Linked DNA regions of Homo sapiens: region 2 is linked to region 1. Evidence: promoter capture Hi-C in 16 types of primary human blood cells and fetal thymus (Javierre and others, 2016). All regions are on one chromosome and are shown on one strand. The core of a region is centred on a gene start or on the middle of the fragment in contact, and the rest is flanking DNA. Distances in the headings are between cores, read along the strand shown.

Region 1 (5,131 bases), core at 361-2,860:
GATGCAGAAGCCCCAGTCTGCCTGGCTCTTGGTGCTGGGTTCTTACTTCCTCAAGTCTCTGCTCCATCAAAAACACTGGGGAAGCTCAAGGCATTCAGCTCTAGCGGTGGAAGGTCAGAAGATGGGACAGGTGGGCAAGGAGAGCTTTGGAGTGGGGTGGGAGCTTTTCTGGGGCCTCTCTCACCTCCAGGCCCAGGTCCCAGTGGGCAACCAGCTAGCCCGGAGAGGTCTGGGGAGACAGACAGACAGCTGGTGTCCTTCCTGGCTCCTCCGCAGGTTATAGATGTTTCTAGGAGCTCCCTCCAGAGCAGGGCCCAGGAAGTGCTGGGCCCAGGCTGACCCAACCCCGCTTGGCTGGGGCTAGCATCTCTCACTGAGCCCCTTCTCCCCAGACCCTGAGACAAGGCTGCGATTAATCAGTAACAAAAACAGAAACAAGCAGAAAAGTGTAATCAGCTTGGGAAGGGCAGGGCAGGACCGGGCAGGGCTGTGCAATCAGCGTTCCTGCTGGGACCTTTAGCTGATTGGGCCAAAGGGGGCAGGGAGGTGGTCCCAGTAGGGGGATTCAGGGAAGCACCCAGAGATGGGGCCACAGCCAGGCCAGAAGGTCACCCCCTCCCATGCACATCTGTGCACCATATGCCCACACCACTCCCAGCCCCAGGGCCTGCACACCTCCCCCGACCTGCCAGCGTACAACCTTGGCACACACAGGTGGCCACACACTCCCGACATTTGTCCATCTGCATATGGAGTCACAGACACCTGCGCACGTGCCCAGTGGCACATACACACCCTCATGGATAGCAGACATATGCACACGCAGGCTGCTCCCTCAAACACCTGCCCCCACCCCAGCTCTGGGGTGCCGACGTGCCCTGGGGCCTGGGGAAGCCCTGCACATACATTAGGTCTGAGCTGCAGCCATGTGAACTGGCAGGCCCTCACACCAGACCCCACAGGCACCGGGCCATGTCTCTGTCCCGAACTGCCCTGGGGGCCATGAGACACTTTGGCTCCTCTTCTGCAAGCTGAAAGGTAGGGGCTTGGGAAGGGTCCGGGACTGGGGCCCCATTGTGGGGAGCAAGGTCAGCGGCAGGGTGTCAGTCACAGGCAGGGCAGGAAGCCTACCCCAGACGTGTACCCAGCTCTTACCTGCTGCTCCTGCCCTGTGACCTTGGTCAACGTCCTTCTCTCTCAGCCTCAGTTTCCCCACCTTGGATCCTCCTGGCACGGAAACGGTGACTCTTCTTGAGGACCCAGGTGCTTGGGGCCAGTCTCACCTCTCTGGGTCTACAGTTCTTAGTTCCGGGCTCTCCGCTCCTGGTGCGTGGATGGGGGAAGGTGAGCCAAGGGGCAGGAAGGAGGACCCCCGCAACCCACCCCCTCCCTGGTCCTGGTGGCTGCAGACTTAGGGTGAGGAGAGCCAGTGAACAGAGGGGAGCCCTAGTGGGAAAGGGGAATCGGGGCCGAAGGGGAGAAGGAGCCCCGGGCAGGTTTGGGGCGGCCGCTCAGGGGCCGGCGGCGGGAAGGGGCGGGCTGGGGGTGGGGAGCGCGGAGGGGGCGGGCGGGCGGCTGGCGGGGGAGGCGGGGAGCGCAGCCAGCGCGGCACAGAACGAGCGAGCGAGCGAGCGGAGAGGCGGCTACAGCCTGAGCGCCGGGCCGGTAGCGGCCGCGCCGGCGAGCGGACTAGCGGGCGGCGAGCAGCGCGGAGCGCGCGGGGCACCGAGGAGCGGGCGCGGCGGGCACCGCGCGAGGCAGCCGGAGCTCTCGGAAAGGCCAGAGCGGCGCCGCCCCCGCTGCCCCTGCGGGGCCCCGGCTGGGAGCCCGACGAGGGAGCGGGCGGCATGGCCCGGCGGCCCGGGGCGCGGGGGCGCTAGGCCCCCGGAGGGGCGTCCCCAGCCTCGCCGCTGCCGCCGCCGCCCTCCGCAGCCGCGCGCCCCGCCCGCTCCAGCCGCCCCCGGGGCCGCCACCGGCCCATGAGCCCCGGCCTCAAAGTTTGCGGCGGGCGGGCGGGCGCGGAGCCTCCAAGATGCCGTTCCACCCGGTGACGGCGGCGTTGATGTACCGGGGCATCTACACCGTGCCCAACCTGCTGTCGGAGCAGCGCCCGGTGGACATCCCGGAGGACGAGCTGGAGGGTGAGTGTCCGCCGGGATCCCCGCCCCGGCGGCCCTCCTACCTGTGCGCCCAGGTGAAGCGCGGGCCAGGGGCGCGGGGGCGGGGGGCGGGGGGCGGTCCGCAGGTGCCGGTTGCCAGGTGGGCGCCCCAGCTAGCAGCTGTGCCCCGCGGCAAGACCTGTCCGCACCCCGGGGCGCCGCGGTGGGGGTCGCTCAGGCGGAGAGCGGCCCAGCCCCTGCCCGCGTGGTCCCCAGCGCTGCGGAAACTTGCCGGGCCCCGCAGCGGGGTCACGGGGCCGCGCAGTCGGCGGTGACGGTGCGGCAACGCGGCGGACTGGGGCGGGGGTCCGCGCTGAGCCCCCAGCGCCGGCCCGGCCGGAGCACCCGCATCCTGATCCCCTCCGCGGCGCCCGCCCGCGGCTCTCTGCTCGCATTGACATTCCGCTCGTGTCGCTTTAAAAATTCAATCTGCTCGGGCAGCAGCAGAAGGGGAGAGGGCGACTGCCCTGCTCTTGCCCGCTGCGGGGCCGCCCCCGTCCCCACCTGCGGCCGTAGCCCCTTCCCTGCAGCCCTGCGGGGACCCCCAGCCCGGCGCGCCGGGAAGGCGGCCCGGGAGGCGGTGGCGACAACAAGTGGCCGGACTGGGCGGCTAAGTCGCGATAGCCAAGCCTGGAAGGGAAAGGCAGAGAGGCCAGGACCCAAACCCGCCCCCACCCCGTTCCCCCTGCCTCTCAGACTCGCAGGGGGATGGCAGGCCGCTGGCTGGGCGAGGTCAGAGCAGAGGGCAGGGGCAGGGGTCCGGGACAGTGTGTCCTGAGGAGCAGTGAGACCCCTGGGGCCCGCCCAGCTCCTTCCCTGCTGGGCTGGGGGAGGTGCTGAGGTTTCCCCTCCCCCCAGACCTCCTGGAGCCCCCATATGGAGTGGAGTGGGGGATCTGGGCTGATGGGGGTCACGGCCTCCTGGGATCTGCATGTCTGCTGTTGCAAGGGGCTGAGCTCACCCAGAGGATGGGCCTCTCGGGGTACCTTGGATCCAGGGGTCTCTGAGATCTGGAGGCTCATTAGGGCCTGGGAGGGTGCAGCCAAGACCAGCACAGTCAGGGAGGATGGTGGGAGCCCAGGGGAAGCCATGGAGGGAGGTCCTCCCTCAACCCAGGCCCAGGGTGAGGGCAGATCTTAGAGGAGTCAGAATGGGTCGGGGGAAGATCCAGAGAGAGAAGGCAGCCTCTGCCTCGCTCACTGCACCATAGGCATGAGCCACCAGGCTCCTCACCAACTGCCCCTGCAAACCCTCAGAAGCGGGGAGAGCTGTGGAGACAGGGTCTGGGGTCTGATGCGGACAGGACAGATGGATGATTGGGGCCCCCCGACATGACCTCACCATTCACCCCTAAAACCCAGGGCCAGAGCCTCCTCCAGAGCCCGGGGAAAGGAGGGGTACGATGGTGGGGGGCGAAAGGTCAGGAGATGGAGCATAGGCCTTCTCCTCCCCACCTTTGTCCCCTCCGGCCCTGGGCCACCTCAAACCTCCTGCAGATTTTTCCCTCCAGAGGCCCTCATCCATCCCCTCCTCCTGACCATCCAAGCAGGAGTCACCATGTCTCCCAGACCCCAGGCAGCTTCCGCTTCACTCCCTCCCCTTGCTCCCAGCACCCCCACCAGGACCCCACCACCCCAACTCCAGCCCTTTCTGGGTCCCTCCTCTCCTGATCCCCAGTCCTGGAGTGCACTCCCTGAGGAAGGGGAGAGGCTGAGAGGCTGGCTGCAGGGGCGAGGGGCCGCAGGGTGGGCAGTGCAGGGGCAAGGCCGCAGGCTCCCCAACCAACGACATGGCGTGCTGGCAGGAGCCCAGCTGCGTTAGTCACCAGCCACAACAAGTGCCCTCCCCGCTTCTCTCCTGTCCCCTTCTCCTGGGCCCTGGGGAGCTGAGGGGCCCTGACTCAGGGGGCATCTGAAGGGCAGGGCCCTCCCTGGGATGGGCAGGTGGGGTCATGGAGTAGACAGATGCCTGGGTGGTCCCAGCTCATCTCTGGCCCAGTGGGCAGCTACAGATGAAGGCAAGAAGTTTTCCATGACCAGCCCCCTTCTTGGCTGCAGGTGCCCTAAAAGCCCTCTGGCGGCCCCAGGTCCCTTTCAGCAGTCCTTGAATGCCAGGGCTGGCCATTCCTGGCACGGATCCCCCTCTGCCCTCTCCGCCTCTGCAGGGCCTCATGAGTGCTCCTGCCCCAGGGCGGTCTGGGCGAGACCCAGGCCCTCTGCCGGGAGGACGCCATTCGCGGAGGAGCCACATGTGCCAGGAAGAGGGAGCTGGGCAGCCCGGGATGGAATGCTGCAGACAGTACGTGCCTGCCGCAGAAATCCAGGGGGCGGTCAGTCTGAGCGGAAAGGAGGACCAGGCAGGGAGGTGGGAAGCACAGAGTTAAGATGAGGGCTTCCCAGCCAGGCGGCGCTGGGTTTGAGTCTCTGCACCTTCAGCTCATGGAGTGACCTTGGGCAATCGCTCACCTCTCTGAGCCTTGGTTTCCCCACCTATAAAAGGGGGGCTGGTGATGGAGGATGCAGTGAAAGTACCTACCTAGCACAGGGGGCTCAGGGACCCAGATGCAACATGAGGGGAGGCCCTGCGGGGGTAAGAGGCTGGAGCGTGCAGGGCCCAGGCCCGTGAGGGTGTGCAGGAGGCTGAGCCAGAAGGGCAGGCTGGCAGGGAGAGCTGGGTGGAAAAGGCCTTGAAGGTCTGGAAAAGGTCTCTGGGGACCTGTGGCCCTGGGGAGGCATGGAGGGCAGTTGGCAGGGTAGGAATGTGGCTGCACAGAGCTGGCCTGAGGCCCACCCAGGCCCTGTGAGGGACAGGCACGGACTCTCTTAGATCCCCTCTGTGTGCCCACCATGGCTGGGACATACACCTTTTCCAACATACACACACAGCAGAGTCCTCCAGGAACACTGAGGCTGGTCCCAGCACCATCAGCTGACTCGAGCACCCAAGGGTGGGAATGGGGTGGCTGCAAGTCT
Region 2 (5,462 bases), core at 2,223-4,722, 190 kb after region 1:
TCTGAAAATATTTTTCAGAGATAAGACTAAGTGACTGTGTATACCACAGTGATAGATTGATCCACTTTGATTATTGTAGAACTTTCTATTTCTCAGTAAAAAGTGCTAAACATGGTAAAATTATGAAGGATTGCTTTTAGCTATTTGCTGTATTCTTTAAAGCATATTTAGGAATAAAAAGTTAATTTCCAAAGTGCTGTCATTTATTTAATACATGTTTTCTCCAGAATGTGCTTCCCAAAAGTTAAGAGTGCTTTTATTTATTTAAGAAATATGTTAATTTTTCTTTTCTTTTCTTTTCTTTTTTTTTTTTTGAGACAAATTCTCACTCTGTTGCCCAGGCTGGAGTGCAGTGGCACAGTCTACTGCAGCCTCGACCTTCCAGGCTCCCACGACCTTCCCAGGCCCAAGCCATCCTCCCAATTTAGCCTCCACCATGCTCAGCTGAGTTTTTATTTCTTGTAGAGACTGAGTATTGCCGTATTGCCCAGACTAGTCTCAAACTCCTGGGCTTACTGTGCCTGGCCCACAAGAAATATGTTACTTTTTTTGAGATTTTTGTATAATTTGAGAACACAGATTATTTGCCCTACTCCCCCAACCCCCAGTGATACAGACCTGGTTTCATTGCACTGAGAGAAAAAAATTAGTTTCTTAATTTACGTTGCGTTTCTGCCTTTTTGAGATTGAGTGCTTTGACTTTTCTCTTGTTTTTGTATTTGCTGTATATGTGTTGTTCCTACTTAATTTCTTATATGGTTTAAACTTGCATCTGTAAATTATTTATTAGCTAGCTTTATGACTTGGGCAAGTTACCTTATCTCTCTGCTCCTTAGTTTCCCTCTTTATAAAATGAGGATAATAATATTACCTACTTTGTAGAGTTGAGTAAGATTAATGACTAATAAATGGTGAAGCACTTAAAAGAGGGCTCTATACATGTTGGCTGTTAAAATTATAAGCGAGGACCTGGACTTCTCCCCTCCATTAATTGTAACTCTTCATTTTTATAATTTTTTCATAAATAGTATGTCTCTCAGCATATAACAGAACTTTGTATTAAGGAATAATAAATATCACCATATATGTAATTCTTTATTATAAACATAAATTTGCTTCTTGTTAAAAACAGAGTATCATTTTCTTGCCTCAGATCGAGCTTGAAAGAAATTAGTAGAAAGTGGGCCCTTTTGGCCGGGTGCGGTGGCTCACGCCTGTAATCCCAGCACTTTGGGAGGCCGAGGCGGGCGGATCATGAGATGAGGAGACCGAGACCATCCTGGCTAACACGGTGAAACCCCGTCTCTACTAAAAAATACAAAAAAATTAGCCGGGCATGGTGGTGGGTGCCTGTAGTCCCCACTACTCGCTACTCGGGAGGCTGAGGCAGGAGAATGGCGTGAACCCAGGAGGCGGAGCTTGCAGTGAGCCGAGATTGTGCCACTGCACTCCAGCCTGGGTGACAGAACGAGACTCCATCTCAAAAAAAAAAAAGAAAGTGGGCCCTTTTCTGTGTTTTATAGGTACCCACACACCACTGAATGTAGGTCATCGTTTAAAATCTGAGTGTACATCCAAATCCAGTGCAGTTATGTAGAACAAAACAGTTTGTATGGAACTAGAAGTGTTACTGGAAAGGTAAATACTGTAGTTGGTAGTAAACTGATCAGTTAAAGTGATGGATCAGCAAAGATTTGGGGGTTGCTGGTTTTTATTTAACACTCAGTTGTTTCAGAGTGATTACTCCTGAAACAAAGTTATTTCGAACATAGATGTGTTAAGAAATTTCATATTCCTTTCCACTTAAACCTCTTGAGAAAGGAAGCATTTCTTCAGGGAGAGTTAGCTATGTGAGTGCTACATGAATTTTAGTCATTACTGTGGCGACTATATGATAACCAAAAGTAGGAGTCTCACACTTTAGTTTCAAATTTGTGCTGTTATTGAGTAAATTTTTAAAATGAGATTGCCCTCTTTCTTGCTAAACTGTCATATATATAAGCCCATTAAATTGACTTTTATGCCTCTTTTCCTTTTTTTTTTTTTTAACCTGTTAAGACTTTTTTTTTCTTTCTCATATTTACCCCTGCCTAAGCAAGGCCTCAACTCTCCACGGAAATCTTTAGTAAAAGGCAAAAAGATTTATTCATTATGAAGAGAAACCAGAGCATGTGTGACAGGACTTTCTGTAATTATAAGTTAGTGGTTCAGTGCCAGGGGTTAGATTTTCTTAACTTTTATGTTTAGTAGGATTATTGATAATTCCTAAGTTGTATCCTTAAATCATATTTTTTGAACATTAGGGATCTGCGTCCAACACTTAATTATACTAGTAAAAGGAATAGAACATGCACTGGATTTCTTGTTTTTGAGATTCTTTCATTCCTGCCCTACCCCAGGCAGGAGGTCTGTCTGCAGTGGAAGAGAATGAAACCAGAATGAGGCCAAACAAGTAAAGAGGAGCATGAGATAGAGATGGATCCCATGGCACTGTGCCTTTGAGGCCCTGGTCCTGAAGTTTTTTTCCTTGTTTCTACGCAGCATCTCATTATCCTGTGAGCCATTAAATTCTGATTTTTGGGCTGGGTGTGGTGGCTCGCACCTGTAATCACAGCACTTTGGGAGGCTGAGGCAAGACGATTGCTTGAGCCCAGGAGTTGGAGACCAGCCTGGGCAACGTAGGGAGACTTGTCTCTACAAAAAATAAAAAAATTAGCCAGGTGTGGTAGCACACGCCTGTGGTCCCAACTACTTGGGATGCTGACATGGGAGGGTCCCTTGAGTCTGGAAGGTCAAGGTTGCAGTGAGCCATGATCACGATACTGCAGTCCAGCCTGGGTGACAGAGTGAGACTGTGTCTCAAAAAATTTTTTTTTAATTTTGTGTAAAATAGCTTGATTTGGGTTTTTTTTTTTTTACTTACAACTGAGAATTTTGACCAGTATATTTAATGTTAGTCTGACCATTTCTCCAGTGGGCTTTCTACGTATTTAAAAAATAGTTTGGACTTTAATCTCAGGGTAAACAATATATATAGGTACACTCAGTTTATATATGAGATAATATTCAGGATCAGTGGAGTGAAAATAGTAAAGTATCTTCCATTTTTCAATGGCTTAGAGGGAAAAGTGTTCATAATGGGTATAGAATTAATCAGTATTCCTTTCCCATTATTTATGCCTATACAGTGTAGAAGTTTCCCTTAAAGAGCTTATCACCATAATAAGTACAATAGCAAAGATATAAAGTCAGTACTTTTCACTGATTAGGCATAAATATCCTCTTTATTGTTTTCTTACAAAGTAGCTATGATAAACATATAAAAGGGTCAGAAAGAGAGGGGAGAAAAACTCGGTGAAAAGTCAGACAAGAGGAAATGAAGAGGTGAGGTATGTATAGTAAGCATTAGTGAACTTGTAGTAATTGCTTTAGGTTTCATGGATTGCCCACTTGTGGATTAAATGTTAGACTTCTGCAAAATGAGTTGATGGTAGAGATGAAGAAAAGTCTTAATTTGTTTTTTTTATGCTAAGGTTAAAGTTGATGTGGCTAATTAGGTATTAAGATCAGTTTTCCTGTCTTTTTATTATTTATTTATGTTTATGAATGAATGAATGAAGAAATGAATGACAAAGTCTCGCTTTGTCACCCAGGCTGGAGTGCAGTGGCATGATCATAGCACACTGCTGCCTCAAACTCCTGGGCTCAAAGGATCCTCCTGCCTCCCAAGTAGCTGGGATTACAGGTGTGCGCTACCATGCCTGGCTAATTTTAAAATTTTTAGTAGAGATGGGTTCTCGCTATGTTGCCCAGGCTTATCTAGAACTCAAGCGATCCTCCTGTGTCAGCCTCCCAAAGTGCTAGGAGGATTGCAGGCATGGGCCACCAAACCTGGCCTTGTCTTGCTTTTTAATAAGCTGTTGTCATTATGTTGCCTTTCAAAGTCCAGTTCTTCTTTACCACCCCATTTGCCTGGAGGTAATGCATTAGGTGAGAATGAAAGGTGAGTACCTAAAAGATTCAGAATTGGAAGGCCTTAATAGGATCAATGTGTAGGAGCTGCAGAGAATATGAAGGACTTTTAAATATTCCAGTCCCAAAATAAACTTGACCATTGGCCAAGATTGTGGTAAGCTAAGTATTTGAGATGTCTGTGCTACATCATCCAACTCTTGGCCTGAACTGTTTTAGCTGGCTTGCCTATGTAAATTGAAACTTCCTTTAATACTTAACTGTGAGTTAAACATAGTTCTGGAGCTCCATCGAAAGGGTCTTAGTCAGCCAGGCACAGTGGCTTACACCTGTAATCCCAGCATTCTGGGAAGCCGAGGCGAGAGAATCACTTGTGAGGCCTGGAGTTTGAGACCAGCCTGGGCAACATTGCAAGACCCCCTCTACAAAATAATAATAATAATTATTATCCAGCTGTGGTGGTGCTCACCTATAGTCCCAGCTACTCAGGAAGCTGAGGTAGGAGAGTTGCTTGAGCCCAGGACATCAAGACAGCAGTGAGCCATGATTGCACCACTGCACTCTAGCCTGGGTAACAGCGAGACTCCCATCTCAAAACAAAAACAGAAACAAAGGGTCTTAGTTATACAGATCTTCTTAATCATTCCTAAAGCGTACATTCCAAGTTTATATTTACAGTAAAGTGATCTATATCCCAAAACATGTTTCCACTGGTTACTAATTTGGGGCAAGTCATTAACTTCTCAGAGCCTTCTGTAACTAAGATTTAGGGAAAATACTGGTCTTAACCAGAGCACATATGTATACCTTTGACTCTTTTTGCTGCCACATGGTTAAAAAATCAGCCTTAGAGAGGTATAATTTGCACAAATTTTGCCTTTTTTCTAGGATGTAATATAAATGAAATCATACAGGATATACTATTTTGTGCCTGTCCTCTTTCATTTTAGTATAATGCTTTGAGAATCATTCATATTGTTAAAAGCAGTAGTTGTTCCATTTAATTGCTAAGTAGTAGTCCATTGTATGGATATTCCACAATTCCTTTATTTACTAGTTAATGGATATTGGGGTTTTTTTTTTTTCCAGGTTTTGGGTTTATTTATTTATTTATTTGAGACGGAGTCTCGCTCTGTCGCCCAGGCTGGAGTGCGGTGGCGAGATCTCGGCTAACTGCAACCTCCGCCTCCTGGGTTAAAGCTATTCTCCTGCCTCAGCCTGCTGAGGAGCTGGGACTACAGGCTCATGCCACCGCACTCGGCTAATTTTTTGTATTTTTAGTAGAGACGGAGTTTCACCTTGTTAGCCGGGTTGGTCTGATCTCTTGAGCTCGTGATCCGCCCACCTCAACCTCCCAAAGTGCTGGGATTACAGGCATGAGCCACCACGCCCGGCCCAGTTTTTGGCTATTACGAATAAATCTCCTCTGAATATTTGCAACATAGATCTTTGTGTGGACATATATTTTCATTTCTCTTGGTTAAAAATCC

Evidence for each region. The method cuts DNA at HindIII sites, captures the fragments that hold promoters and counts their contacts. A CHiCAGO score of 5 or more calls a contact.
Region 2: a contact is called between a fragment that was not itself captured here and the fragment with the promoter of CABP7 in region 1, in 3 of 17 cell types (neutrophils, erythroblasts and total CD4 T cells). The highest score is 15.6, in neutrophils.

The regions. Positions count from the first base shown.
Region 1 is chr22:29,718,393-29,723,523 of GRCh38, forward strand. CABP7 (calcium binding protein 7) reads left to right here and starts at 1,611. Exons shown (of 5, transcript NM_182527.3): 1 at 1,611-2,141. The coding sequence starts at 2,033. It overlaps CABP7-DT (CABP7 divergent transcript), which reads right to left and starts at 1,511. Exons shown (of 3, transcript NR_186695.1): 1 at 1,156-1,511. RefSeq lists an enhancer at 2,920-3,710. The HindIII fragment of the contact is 23,163 bases long and covers 1-5,131 here.
Region 2 is chr22:29,908,682-29,914,143 of GRCh38, forward strand. The region is part of intron 1 of MTMR3 (myotubularin related protein 3); the gene reads left to right. It also overlaps the pseudogene RNU5F-5P. Among named protein-coding and RNA genes, the nearest start is that of MTMR3, 28 kb to the left of the region's middle. RefSeq lists an enhancer at 3,902-4,884. The HindIII fragment of the contact is 7,942 bases long and covers 1-5,462 here.